Regions from separate parts of the Homo sapiens genome. Here all the other regions are linked to region 5. The links are contacts of gene promoters, found by promoter capture Hi-C in blood cells and fetal thymus (Javierre and others, 2016). All regions are on one chromosome and are shown on one strand. The core of a region is centred on a gene start or on the middle of the fragment in contact, and the rest is flanking DNA. Distances in the headings are between cores, read along the strand shown.

Region 1 (2,700 bases), core at 13-2,512, 1.4 Mb after region 5:
AATAAATTATTCAAAAATACTTGTTAAACCTATCTACTGTTTGCCATATGCTAAGACCCAAAGGAGGGAAGAGTGTCATCATGCCAAGTCATGGGATGGCAGTGATGGTATTGCTATGGTGCTGTGTATACAAGACCATGAGAGCAAGAGGAAGGAGCCCAGTGTGTGGCCTGGGAGGGTCAAGGGAAACTGGATTCAGGAAATGCCATTTTGGCTAAGAACTATAGAGTCAATACACATTTGCAAGGTTTTAAAGTGAAAATGGAGGCCAGGCATGGTGGCTCACGCTTGTAGTCCCAGCAATTTTTGAGGCCGAGGCGGGCGGATCACCTGAGGTCAGGAGTTCGAGACCAGCCTGGCCAACATAGTGAAACCCTGTCTCTACTAAAAATACAAAAATTAGCCGGACGTGGTGGCACGCATCTGTAATCCCAGCTACTCAGTAGGCTGAGGCAGGAGAATCACTTGGACCCAGGAGGTGGAGGTTGCAGTGAGCCGAGATTGCACCACTGCCTGGGCGACAGAGCGAGACTCTGTCTTAAAAAAACACACACACACAAAAAACTAAAATTGTTCATATGATTGGGCTGGATGCTAGATTGTTTGGGAGATGAAGTTGTACGCTCTGGGGGTGTTTTGGAAACTCATGCAATACTTTCTTTGGTCACAGTGATTGGAAGGCGCTTCTGGCATTGAATGAGCAAAGCCCAGGCAGCAGGTACGATGCAATGTACAAGATAGTTCTGCACATGAAGAATTGTCCTGTGTTTAACACGATTATTCTCAAGCGTCTCAACAGATATTTATGTAAAGTTAATTACAGAACCTGTCTATAAGAGTTTGAGCTAGAACCTAACTTTGTTTTACATATAGGTACAAAGTATTTGTTGCCAGGCTTAATGCACACTGAATTTTCCAGGAATAAAACTACTTTGTCAGTTGGGGAAAGATTGCGCATCGTTTTATGTGGACCTTTACTAAATACTGTTCACAATTTAGAGAAATTGTGTCAGCCATGGCCACACCACTTTGGAAATTTGAATGATCGATAAAACATACTGTGTGGATCTGTGTTTGGAGCTGTATTCACGGTGATTCCATGCACACAGCTACTTCATGGTGTCTTCTGTTGGCAGTTTTGTGCCAATATGTAAAAACAAAAGTTATGTTATTATCAATTCCATTCCCCCCTTTTTCTTCTATACTTAAGATATTATACTGATTTACTTTTAAAAATTATTACGCAGGTAGGTTATATACTACTTACGATTTTTATTTCAAGACAGAAAAGTGTGTTATAAAAAGGGACTTGGGATTGATAGGCTTGAAAACCCCTGCCTAGATCTCGAAGTACCTTGTATACTATTAAAAGGAGCTATGTATTTTATAGTCCTTGAAGTATACCCTTCAAACTATCTACATAAGAGTCACCTGGTGAGCATTTTCAAACTTCAGGGTCCTGGGCCCATTTTAGAACTACTGAATTCCTTGTGGGAGACTTGAATCTATCTTATGTCACCCTCTCCCCAACCTACACGTGACTTTTTTTTTTTTCTTTCTTTCTTTTTTTTTTTTTTGAGACGGAGTCTTGCTCTGTTGCCCAGGCTGGAGTGCAGTTGCATGATCTCGGCTCACTACAGCCTCTGCCTCCCGGGTCAAGCAATTCTCCTGCCTCAGCCTCCCAAGTAGCTGGGATTACAGGTGCCCGCCACTACGCCCAGCTAATTTTTTGTATTTTTAGTAGAGAGGGGGTTTCACCATGTTGGCTAGGCAGGTCTCAAACTCATGACCTCAGGTGATCTGCCCACCTCGGCCTCCCAAAGTGCTGGGATTACAGGTGTGAGCCACCATGCCTGGCCCCCAACCTACACAGGACTCTTATCCCTCTAACATTTGAGAATGCACTGCTATAGAATTTCTCTAAATTTAAGAATTTAGAGAAATGGAGGGATATAAACAGGTTTTAAGGTTAAAAATAATACTCTGGGTTGGGCATGGTGACTTACACTTGTAATCCCAGCACTTTGGGAGGCCAGGACAGGTAGATCACCTGAGGTCAGGAGTTCAAGACCAGCCTGGCCAACATAGTGAAACCCCGTCTCTACTAAAAATACAAAGATTAGCCAGGTGTGGTGGTGCGCATCCATAATCCCAGCTACTTGGGAGGCTGAGGCAGGAGAATTGCTGGAACCTGGGAGGCAGAAATTGCAGTGAGCCCAGATCGATCCACTGCACTCCAGCCTGGGTGACATAGTGAGACCCTGTATCAAAAAAACAAACAAACCCCAAAAAACAAAACTCTAATAGGACTTCAATGGTAGATGGAAGGAGCTTCAGACTCACAGTTGAGAACCGGTGAAGTTTCTATTGTAATGTTCTAGTTGAAAAATTTTGATGAAATACAGCATGGTATGTGGTAGACATGGGTGAGAGAAGTTATTATGAAGTAAAATGATACAATGTAGTGATAGCATTGGCAGAATAAAAGAGAATAAAGCTAGATTAAAGATAACAAAGGATGGTTTTTGCTAGGTAAATGGTGTTATCATTTATCAAGTTGGGGATTTCATTGGGGTGGGTGGCTAGTCTGTGGTTTCTGGTTTGGGCATGCTGACATTTAGTTTCCTGTCATACCTGTCAGTGGAGATTGGGTATATACAGATATGATTTAGTTTAGGAGAACCATCTCCTAGAGATAAG
Region 2 (2,700 bases), core at 59-2,558, 1.6 Mb after region 5:
GGGTTTCTGTTCCTAAATTTTGACTAGTTACTAAGGTTAATAATCTTGTCTTCCTCTAACGTGGCAGCTTAGACTTCAATTTATTCTTGAGAGTTGGAGTGCCTTCCATCTGAATTCTTCTTCTTTTTTTTTTTTTTTTAAGATGGGGTCTTGTTCTGTTGCCCAGGCTGGAGCACAGTGGTAAAATCATAGCTCACTGCAGGCTGGAACTCCTGGGCTCCAACAGTCCTCCTCCTTCAGCCTCCTAAGTAGCTGGGACTATAGGCGTGTACCACCATACCTGGCTAATTTTTATTTTTTGTTGAGATGAGGTCTCGCTTTGCTGCCCAAGGTGGTCTCAAACTCCTGGCCTCAAGCTACCCTCCCACCTTGGCCTCCCAAAGTGCTGGGATTATAGGCGTGAGTCACTGCCCTTGGTCTGAATGATTCTTATCAAGACTGGTGATGGTGGCATCTAAGAACAGCTGGGGGTGACTCTTTGTTCACTGTGTGTATTAATTTCCTCTGGCTGCTGTAGCAAATTACCACAAACTTGGCACCTTAAAACAACAGACATTTAGGTTTTGACAGGGCTGAGCTCCTGCCAGAGGCTCTGGGGGAGAATCTGTTCCTTCTCTCTTCCAGCTTCTGGAAACTGCTGACATCCCTTGGCTTGTGGCCTCATCACTCCAATATCTGCCCCCTCCACGGCCACATTGCCTTCCTGTCTTCCATCTGTAGTCAAATCTGCCTCTGCTTCCCTCTTAGAAGCATACATGTAATGACATTTAAGGCCCAACTAGATAATTCAAAATAATCCCCCCATCTCAAGATCTTTAATTTCATCACATCTGCAAAGTCTTTGCATAGAAGGTAACATTTACAGGTCCCAGAGATTAGGACCTGATATATTGGTGGCCATTATTCTGTGTACTACACTGTCCATCTAGGTTGGGCCTGCTACTTCTCCTGGAAGTCCCACTCTTGACCATTTCTGAGTCATGGTTCAGTGCACTATGCCTTCCTGCTTCTCTGCCTCTTTGTCTTCCTCACCTCTACCTACAGAACTGGCCTTAGCAATGCTGTCGGTTTCCCCAAGGTCTGTCTCAGGCCCAGGGGCCAGGGCTACCTCCTGTTCCTGCTGCTTCTCTTCCTGTACACTTGCCTCCTTCTCTTTTATTGAGTTGTAGAAAATACCAAGTCTCTTTTCAAAAATCTCGTCCTGTGATGCCTCCTTCCTCACAAAGACCTTGCAATCCAGGCCCTTCCGGGCTGTCTGCGTTGTGTGACACTTAACTCGGACATATGTAGACATGCCTTGAGATGTGGGCTGCCATTTATTTATCTAAAATGCCCCTTCCCCTTGCTCTATATTGGGTGAAATATTGTACATTTTGCAAGGTCTTGTTTAAGTGTCAAATTCTCTGAGACTTTCCTAAGCCCCTCCCCCTCCTCTTTTCCATACAGAATCAATTACATCTTCCCTCTGTTCTTCCTTAGCACTCTGTTTATACTTGACTCAAACCCTTCCCACATTGTGTTATACTTTATTTTGTCTCTGTCTCTCCTTGCTGGACTTTGAGGTTCATGAGAACCAGGAAAAGGATATTATTCATCTTTTTTAATTTTAACCTGACATGGAACTCACAATACATCCTTGATATAATAATAATATGTGTTTAATTAATTGATTAATTTGAATTTTAAACTTTTCATAATTCAGAATATCTTAGAATAGATGAACATTTAATACTTTTCTCCCAATTTCCTTATGGACCCAAGAGTAATTATTTTCCTTAGATGGCTATGTACAGTCAAGCATGGCTTTTGTTTCCAGTATAAATTAATTTAAAATACTGTAATTTATGCATTCTCTTCTTTACATTTTGTTCAGTGTGGGGGTTATTACCCTTACCCCTCTAGAGAGCCAATTTACTTATTTTATTTTATTTTTGAGACAGAGGCTTGCTCTGTCATCCAGGCTGGAGTGCAGTGGCTTGATCACAGCTCACTGCAGACTTGACCTCCTGCACTCAAGCAATCCTCCCACCTCAGCCTCCCGAGTAGCTGGCACCACAGGTGTGTGCCACCATGCTTGGCTAATTTTTAAAATTGTTATTGTTTGTAGAGATAGGGGTATCCTTGTGTTGCCCAGGCTGGTCTCAAACTGGGCTCAAGTGGTCCTCCCATCTCAGCTTCCCAAAGTGCTAGGATTACAGGCGTGAGCCACTCTACTTGGCCCAATTTACTTTAATATGAGATTTTTCTAAACCTTAAAGGCTACCAGTGTAATGTTGTCACTTGATTGTCTTCTTGTAGATCCAGACTTTTAAGCAGGAATTAGGAATGTTATCTGTGAAGATTGCTTCTTTTCACTTACTGGTGCTCTACTGAAACAATACTATTTTCCTCCCTTTTCCTGGGTGTTTTGTCTGAGTACATGTGAATGTCAGAGTTATTTTCCCTGCCTTGTCACTGGAATCTGCAGCCAGCCTCCCTGATTGTGAATGCATCCATGCTGTACAGCTGGCGTCTGTTTCCTATTTCTATAGCCGTGAGTCTCTCAGGGCTTTTGTAGAGAGTACGGGTGTTTTATTACATTGCATGTCTTATATGTATGAGAAACTTAAAGGGCTTTGAGGATTTTCTTTTTCGGTATCTAATCTTCTAACAGCTCTCTGAGGTAGGTAGCAGGAAGTGTTATCTCCATTTTGCAGACGT
Region 3 (2,700 bases), core at 72-2,571, 1.6 Mb after region 5:
ATTGTTCATTGTTAGTATATATAAATGCAACTTACTTTTATATGTTGGCTTTGTATCCTGCTACTTTATTGAATTTATTATCTCTAACAATTTTTTGAGTGCGGGATCGGGGGATCTTTCGGAGATAAGATCAGATCATTTGCAAACAGAAATAGTTTTATTTTTCCTTTCCAATTTGGATGGCCTTTATTTCGTTTTCTTGCCTAATTGCTCTGGCTAGAGCTTCTTGTACCATGTTGAATAGAAGTGGTGAAAGCAGGCATCCTTGCCTTATTTCTGATCTTAGAGTAAATGCTTTTAGTCTTTCACCATTATGATGTTGGCTATGGGTTTTTTCATATATGGATTTTATTATATTGAGGTAGATTTCTTTCTAGTATGTTGAGTATTTTCAACATGAAAGGGTATTGAATTTTGTCAAGTCCTTTTTCTGAATCAACCACATTGAGATGATCATGTGGTTTTAGTCTTTCATTCTGTTAACATTATATATTATATCAATTTTTCTATGTTAAACCATCCTTGCATTTCGGGACTAAATCTCATTTGGTTGTGGTGTATAATTCTTTTAATATTCTGCTGAACTCAGATGGCTAGTATTTTGTTGACAGTTTTTACATCAGTGTTTATAAGGGATATTGGTCTATAGTTTTCTTTCTTTTTCTGGCTTTGCTATCACGGTAATACTGGCCTCATAGAATGAATTAAAAAGTGTTTTATCAGCCGGGTGCAGTGGCTCATGCCTGTAATCCCAGGACTTTGGAAGGCTGAGGTGGATGGATCACCTGAGGTCAGGAGTTCAAGACCAGCCTGGCCAACATGGTGAAACCCCATCTCTACTAAAAATACAAAAATCAGCTGGGCATGGTGGTGTGTATTGGTAGTCCCAGCTACTGAGGCAGGAGAATCACTCGAACCCAGGAGGCAGAAGCTGCAGTGAGCCAAGATTGCGCCACTGTACTCCAGCCTGGGCAACAGAGTAAGACTCAGTCTCAAAAAACAAACAAACAAACAAAACGTGTTTTATCTTCTTCAGTATTTTGAAAGAGTTTGAGAAAGATTGGTGTTAATTCTTTATTTTTATTTTTATTTTTTGAGACGGAGTTTCACTCTTGTTGTCCAGGCTGGAGTGCAATGGTGCAATCTCAGCTCATTGCAACCTCTGCCTCTCAGGTTCAAGTGATTCTCCTGCCTCAGCCTCCCAAGTAGCTGGGATTACAGGCATGTGCCACCATGCCCAGCTATTTTTTGTATTTTTTTTAGTAGAGACAGGGTTTCATCATGTTGGCCAGGCTGGTCTTAAACACCTGACCTCAGGTGATCCACCTGCCTCAGTTTCCCAAAGTGCTGGGATTATAGGTGTGAGCCACTGCGCCTGGCTTACTTCTTTAAATGTTTGGTGGAAGGTTGTGCATTTTTAAAAACAGTTTTAAAGAATATATTTAATCAGCTGAACTGAGGGAATTGTTACATTTAGGATAAAGAGAAGTTTGGAAAACTGTGGGGTTTCCAGATTCATTGTTTTATCTCCAAGTGACAATTCCCTTCTGCTCTCCCGAGTCTTTACCACAGGACTGAAGATTCAGTTTGGCCTCTGTGATGTGGCCTGGCCGACAGTCTGTTGCTCTCTCATCCTTTAGGAGTCCTGGATGATTAGTAAGCATTTTCTCACAGCAAATGATTCAGAATGAAATGTAGTTCCAGATACAAAAATTATTTCTGAAAATAACCTCACTTCTTTAAAACCATTTCTGTTATATGTTGATTTAAAAGCATTTATACTGATCTCCAGTCAACTTTCTCTTTCTCTTGGTGTTCCTTCTTCATCCCTCTCCCCACTCTCTTTCTCTCTCTTGCCTGCCCACCTGCCCGCCCCCCTCCCTTCCTCCCTCCCTCTCCTTCCCCCTCCTTCTTCCTTCCTTGCTTCCTTCCTTCCTCCCTCCCTCCCTCATGGAATACCCAGAACAATACTGTCTAATAGACATATAATATAAGCCACATGTGTAGCCATGCTAAAAAAAAAAAAATGAAGAGAATTAGGTGAAATTGATTTTAATAACACACTTTATTTAACCTAATATATCCAAAATATTATTTCAATATTTAATTAATATAAAAATTAATGAGCTATTTAACTGTATTTTTCATAGTAAGTCTGTGAAATCCACTGTTTTAAACTTGAGATACATCTCAGTTTGGACTGATCACATTTCAAGGACTCAAGAGCCACATGTGTCTAGTGACCACTGTATTAGACAGTGCAGACCTAGTGTATTTGGTACCAAGCACGTAAAGTCCAGAAAAGGGCAGCCCTCCACTTTGCTTCATGGACAGGACAGATCAATAAAGGATGAATGATGGCTGTGAGTACCTGGGGAGGAGCTGTGCATAGAGTATTAGGGAAGCCCAGAGGAGGGGGTCCAAAGGCAGACCTGTGAGCTGGGGCCTCCCTGCAACTTACTTGGCTTGTTCACTACCACTAGATCTCATTTCTTTGAACTAGTCCCCTGTGGGGAGGCAACTGAGCTGGAGTTTGGCATGGGCCCCAGTCCATCAGACATTAACTTTTTGCCTCATGTATTAAGAGAGCCACTGGCAAGTTCACATTTAATTACAGGCTCTGCTCTGGCCACAGGTTTGGGAGCTGGGATTTTGGAATCACAACCTCACTGCTTTCTGTTCTGGTCTGCCTTTCATTCC
Region 4 (2,700 bases), core at 152-2,651, 2.0 Mb after region 5:
TATTTACTTATATTTGACTTGCAGTTATATCCGAAGGGAAAATACAATAAAAAGTTGATTAATAACAACAAAACCTCCCTATATCTGGTGATAAAACATTGTTTGCATGCTTTCACATTTTAAACAAAATTCCAGCTATGCTGTAGAATGAGAGGTGAGCCAGAATCCCAGTGCCCATGCATTGGTTCTGTTTTGGAGACTTGGTTTTACTCTGAACTGGGCTTCTGACTTACTTGGCTACTGGAGGGCAAATCATAACCAATATATCTCAGTGCTGTCATCCAAAAATGGAGGTGGACTTGGGAAGATGGACTAATTAAAGGTTGCAAAGCACTTTTGAGTCTATAAAGCCATATGTAATTGCAACCATTAAACCTAGTAATATAATGAAGTGTTGAAAGTTGTGTCTTCGTCATTTTGTTTTCTAAATTCAGTGAGAGACTCCTTCAAAGCCCATTCTGTTTACTTTCCCAAGGAAATTGTCTCAGTCCATTTTCTGTTGCTGTAACAGAACACCTAAGACTAGGTAATTTATAAAGTAAAGCGATTGATTGGCTCTAGAGGTTGGTAAGTCCAAGAATGAGGGGTTGCATCTGGTAAGGGCCTTCTTGCTGTGTCATAAAATGGCAGAAAGCATGACATGGTGAGAGAGAGCAAGAGTAGGCCAAATTCAGCTTTTATAGCAAGCTTCTGATAAGAATCCATTCATCCAGAGTCCTCATGACATAATCACCTCTTAAAGGTCCTACCTCTCAACACTGTTGCACTGGGGATTAACTTTCCAACACATTAACTGTGGAAAACACATTCAAACCATAACAGAAATTAATGAATGAAAAAACTGGTGATTTGGGCCAATGCGCTCTTGAACAGTTATGTATTTTGAGATATACCAAGCTTTTTTCTGCATTTCCTAATATTATTTTTATGTTCATTATGTTACTATTAAACATTTTTTCATTACGTTATTATTTTCTTATGTATTAATAGTAGTTAATAATACATTTACCAAGAATTAAATTTGTTTAAAATTTCGCAGTTGGGGCAGAGTTTACCAAATGTGGAGTGAGCCTATCTGTTGTGAAATAGAACTCACTAACCTCTTAACACAGGAAAATCAGTGATTTCATCAGATTAGAATTACATAGAGAAGCTATTCTCTGGGTGCAAAGATTGAAATTGCTTCTTGTGAAAGACACAGTTTCACAATTTCTTGTGAAATTGTTTCTTGTATCTAGTTTAAAACAGACACAAGAGAAACTTCATATGTAGTGCTGACACGTAAAGAGTTGGAGAATGAGTTGTCCCTTTGCGCCTCAACTTCTCCCTCAATGTCATGGTGGGCAAAATTATTTTGCCTTAGGCTTTAGCTGTAAAATGGGTTGCTAGCACTTGACCACAAATGGAATAATTACAATGAGGTTTGGAAGCCTACAGCATTTGTATTGAGGACATTTCCCCCTTGTGCATCTGTTAACTGTTATTACAGATTTGAGATACCATTAATCAGTAGCATCTTTAACAAATGTAGAGTAGATTTTTGCATACTGAGGTTCAGCCAGGCACCCCCATTAGCTGGCATACATTGGACCTCACTTGCAAAAACATGTTTCTGCTGTTATTCTTACAGAAGGCTGTATGTTCACACACATGCACAATTATGAGACTGAACACTCCCTTCTTCTTTGGATTGCTCTTTGATCTTTTGTAATTTTGCTGCTTGTGTCCATATGGAAATGTTAGCAACCAGCAGGCAATTCCTTTCTATTATGATTCCTCCTGATTCCTCCTCCATTGTCTTTCCCCTTGTTGTTTCTTGTTTGCATTGGGCTCCAGACTGATGCCAACATTTCAACGGGGTACACCTCATCAGTTTCAAAAGCTCAATTTGCTTTAAGTAGCCAGCAAAGCTTACCCTTATTTTTAAGTACCTGTTTATACCTGAGTTTCCCTGACATGCAATGACAACTTGGGCATCTCAAGAGAAACAGTTTTCTTGTGAGCCTGGAGACCTATGGGATTAGGCATGTAGGTCATAAATGCTGTCAGCATTAAGCTTGTTTTTAGTGCAGTGCTCTCTGGATTTCCATTTTGGTCTTTAATGACTAGGAGTACATATAATAACACACAGGCATGACCTCATCCAAAGACAATTTATTTAAAAATTGTCTTGGAATTAAAAATTCCAAACCCTAAAAAAGCTTAATTTGTGGGTGGTAGTTTATAACCATTTCTAAAATTTCTTCCTGTCTGTAGTACCCAGTAACTTTAGTCCTGGAAATCTCTCTTTTATTATAATGGAAAATACCAAAGATATGAGAGCACAGAAATATGTGCTTACTAAGGGAGCTTTCTTTCTCTTAGAACCTTCTGAAGCTCCTCCCTGGGAGAGATTAAATAATGTCCGCTCTTTCCCACTTCCCAATTCTATCTTCACACATCAAACAAATGAAAATCCTTCCAAAACTCATCTCCCTTCATGCCCACACTCAAATATGCTGTTTTATGTGGGTCGAACAAAGTCTTTTTCTGATTTTTCTCCCCATCTGTTCTTTGAATAAACATGCATCCTAAAGACAAGGAGGACTTAAAGGATCAAATTTGGTTCCTGTATTTGGAAATGCTATCAAAAGACCACACCGCACTTGGCCATTCGGTCAAATTAGATGCCGTTTGCTTCTAATAGCACTTAATTACTTC
Region 5 (2,700 bases), core at 82-2,581:
AGGGCTCAAGGTGTTGCAATCCTCATCACCTATGAGCACCAATTCTGCAGCTGTTTTGCACGTAACTATAAATTATGATCTAGTCTCTACATACATAACTTCCCCCACATTCCTGCAGGGGTCTCTTTTCCTGCTCAATCTCAGGAGCAAGCTTTAATTTTAAGACCCATGAATACTTGAACAAATTCAGGAGTCAGTTTGACACATCATTTTATATTTTTCTGATGACAATTTCTAGTTTACTTTTTAAAAAAAGACACTATTTTAAAAATACTTTGGGATAGGTTTGAGTCGTTGTGTTTGCTTCCAGTCAGAGAACTTCCTACAAAACTGAAGATATAAAGTGCTGATGCCTGGGCGTGCCTGCGTTCGTTGGGGGCACGACGTCATCGTGGGAAGCGTGTACTTTTTCGGATTACTGCTTGGCGGATTAGAAACCCGTAGATCAGTTCTAGGTTAGCCCTGATTAACTGCCCTGGGTGTTTCTGGGCCAGAGGGAATGTCTGCTGGATTCAAACCAATATCCGTTGTAAGACAAAAGAGTTAATTTGTACTTTACCCCTATCCAGGCTAATAATGAAGGTACCGGGAATGATCTGGAATGTTAACTGGTGCCCGCAATCGCGTCTGCTGAACCTTCTGCCCCCACGATTCTGTCTGCCCACATGCTTCTGTCTATCAGCCCCGGCCTCGGGATCAGCTCTCGCCGCGTCATTGGTTGGATTTCAGGAAGGGAGAAGCCCACGATTTAAAGGGCTCCTTTTGCACCTGCCAGACATCGTCCGCATGGTCCAACTTGCCTTTGGCACGTATCTGGAAAAATCTCCTGCGCTGTTCGTTTATTGCACTGACTGGTCAAAGGAAAGAGTGTTCCCTTAGTCACCTTGACAATTTCCAAAAGCGAAACTTGGGCTCTAGACTAGATCTACACTGAGTCTGCGGGGCGCGGAGTCCCTGCCCAGGTCAGTAGCGCCGGCCCGGCGGGCGGGCGGGGACAGGGGCGGAGCCTAGGCCAGGCGTGGTCTTCCGTGGGAGAGAAGGAAATTCTTTGCCCCACCCCCTAAAAACTGCTCTTCTGCCAGCCAATCAAGGAGGCCTATGCAAATAGGGTCCCTGTCGCCCCGGTAACCATGATGCACGGCAGCCAATGGAAACCAGCAAGTCGCGGCCCTGCTCCATGATTGGGACTGAAGTAAGGAGGTAGCGGCCCAATGGGCTGTGGGAACGGTCCTCGGCGGGTTGAGGGGCGGGGATATGCAAATATGGTTTGAAAAGCCGGCGGGAAATCCGAGTTTCGCGGGAGGACCTTGGCGCGTAAACCGTATCCCTTCATTCATTGTCAGCAGCAGCTTCCTGGAGCCATTTTTCAGCTGCCGGCCGCAGCACCCGGGCTGCCGCCGCCGCCTCGCAATCCGTTGCATCGGCCGCCCCCGACGCCTCCATCCCCGCTTGGGGCCCGATATCCGTGCGGCCGGGACCCTCCTCTCTCCAGAGCCCCGATTATTTTTGGCCCCCGGGGCCTGTGCGGTGCGGAAAAATAAAAAGAAAAGAGAGAGAGGGGGCTCGGAAGCGCCGGGCGGGGAGGAGAGAAGGAGGAGAGACTTGGAAACTCCGACTGCAAATAATAAAGAAATTGAAAACAATACATTAATATACCATAACACTAAAAAGAGCAGGAGCGAGAGATGAGAAAGGGAATCCAGCCCGCTCTGGAGCAGTACCTGGTGACCGCCGGGGGTGGGGAGGGGGCGGCTGTCGTCGCCGCCGCCGCTGCAGCCTCCATGGACAAAAGGGCACTGCTAGCCAGCCCCGGCTTCGCCGCCGCCGCCGCCGCTGCCGCCGCCCCGGGCGCGTACATCCAGATCCTCACCACGAACACTTCCACCACCTCCTGTTCCTCCTCCCTCCAAAGCGGCGCCGTAGCCGCCGGCCCCCTCCTCCCCAGTGCCCCCGGCGCGGAGCAGACCGCCGGCAGCCTCCTCTACACCACGCCGCACGGACCCTCCAGCAGAGCCGGGCTGCTGCAGCAGCCACCAGCGCTGGGACGCGGCGGCAGCGGCGGCGGCGGCGGCCCTCCGGTAATACCCTCCCTCCCCACCGTCCCCAGCCCCGGCGGGAGGTGGGCTCGCACCGCGCGGGGTCGTGGGCGCGCTGCGGGCCGCTCGGGGAGAGCACTGGGCCGAGCATCGTGGGCCTCGGGGGCTGCCCCTCCAACGAGGGTTCATTGTTAGACCTGAGTGCTCTTCCCGGCGCCAGGAGGGTCGGGGGGCTCGGCCAGGCGCGCGGGGCGGCGGGGATTGCCTTGGCGCGAACCACATCAAACACTCCAAAACTTTTCGCGGCCCCCCCTTCTTTTCCTGCACTTTTCCCTACCCCCACTCTCCCTTCCCCTCCAACTCGAAGCTTCCTCTTTCTCGGGCGTAGGAAGGGGTCACGCCCCGGATGGAGAAGGGGGTGGGGGAGGGAGTAGTGAACTGGGGTGTGGGGGGCTCTGAGGGGTTGAAACCGGGGGACTGTTGGGGTGCTAGCCCCCAGTCGGCCTTGGAGGCTCGTTGGCGGCCGGGGGTCCCTGCGGCGTGCTCGGAGCGCAGGGGATCGGCGGGGCTGCGCTTGACACATTTTAGGATCTGTAACTCCCGGCAACAAAGGGGCTGGGGGAGGTGGAGGGGAGTCGGGCGTGGGGGAGGTGGGGCTGGAAGC

What was found. Contacts are between HindIII fragments. The CHiCAGO score rates a contact against its expected background, and 5 or more counts as called.
Region 1: a contact is called between a fragment that was not itself captured here and the fragment with the promoter of E2F3 in region 5, in 1 of 17 cell types (fetal thymus). The highest score is 6.1, in fetal thymus.
Region 2: a contact is called between a fragment that was not itself captured here and the fragment with the promoter of E2F3 in region 5, in 1 of 17 cell types (monocytes). The highest score is 7.4, in monocytes.
Region 3: a contact is called between a fragment that was not itself captured here and the fragment with the promoter of E2F3 in region 5, in 1 of 17 cell types (fetal thymus). The highest score is 8.3, in fetal thymus.
Region 4: a contact is called between a fragment that was not itself captured here and the fragment with the promoter of E2F3 in region 5, in 1 of 17 cell types (monocytes). The highest score is 11.9, in monocytes.

Annotation. Positions count from the first base shown.
Region 1 is chr6:21,832,435-21,835,134 of GRCh38, forward strand. All of the region lies in intron 4 of CASC15 (cancer susceptibility 15), which reads left to right. Among named protein-coding and RNA genes, the nearest start is that of CASC15, 170 kb to the left of the region's middle. The HindIII fragment of the contact is 3,336 bases long and covers 1-2,700 here.
Region 2 is chr6:22,021,543-22,024,242 of GRCh38, forward strand. All of the region lies in intron 7 of CASC15 (cancer susceptibility 15), which reads left to right. Among named protein-coding and RNA genes, the nearest start is that of NBAT1, 120 kb to the right of the region's middle. The HindIII fragment of the contact is 7,165 bases long and covers 1-2,700 here.
Region 3 is chr6:22,040,373-22,043,072 of GRCh38, forward strand. The region is part of intron 7 of CASC15 (cancer susceptibility 15); the gene reads left to right. Among named protein-coding and RNA genes, the nearest start is that of NBAT1, 110 kb to the right of the region's middle. The HindIII fragment of the contact is 4,011 bases long and covers 1-2,700 here.
Region 4 is chr6:22,365,268-22,367,967 of GRCh38, forward strand. It overlaps a transcript of LOC105374971 not described here. Among named protein-coding and RNA genes, the nearest start is that of PRL, 70 kb to the left of the region's middle. The HindIII fragment of the contact is 1,013 bases long and covers 896-1,908 here.
Region 5 is chr6:20,400,548-20,403,247 of GRCh38, forward strand. E2F3 (E2F transcription factor 3) reads left to right here and starts at 1,332. Exons shown (of 7, transcript NM_001949.5): 1 at 1,332-2,078. The coding sequence starts at 1,686. LOC124901482 reads right to left here and starts at 2,225. Exons shown (of 3, transcript XM_047419652.1): 1 at 1,878-2,225; 2 at 1,722-1,833; 3 at 194-1,615. The coding sequence starts at 2,225. The coding sequence ends at 1,008. RefSeq lists silencers at 907-1,146, 1,997-2,466, 2,667-2,700 and an enhancer at 1,245-1,769. The HindIII fragment of the contact is 2,252 bases long and covers 150-2,401 here.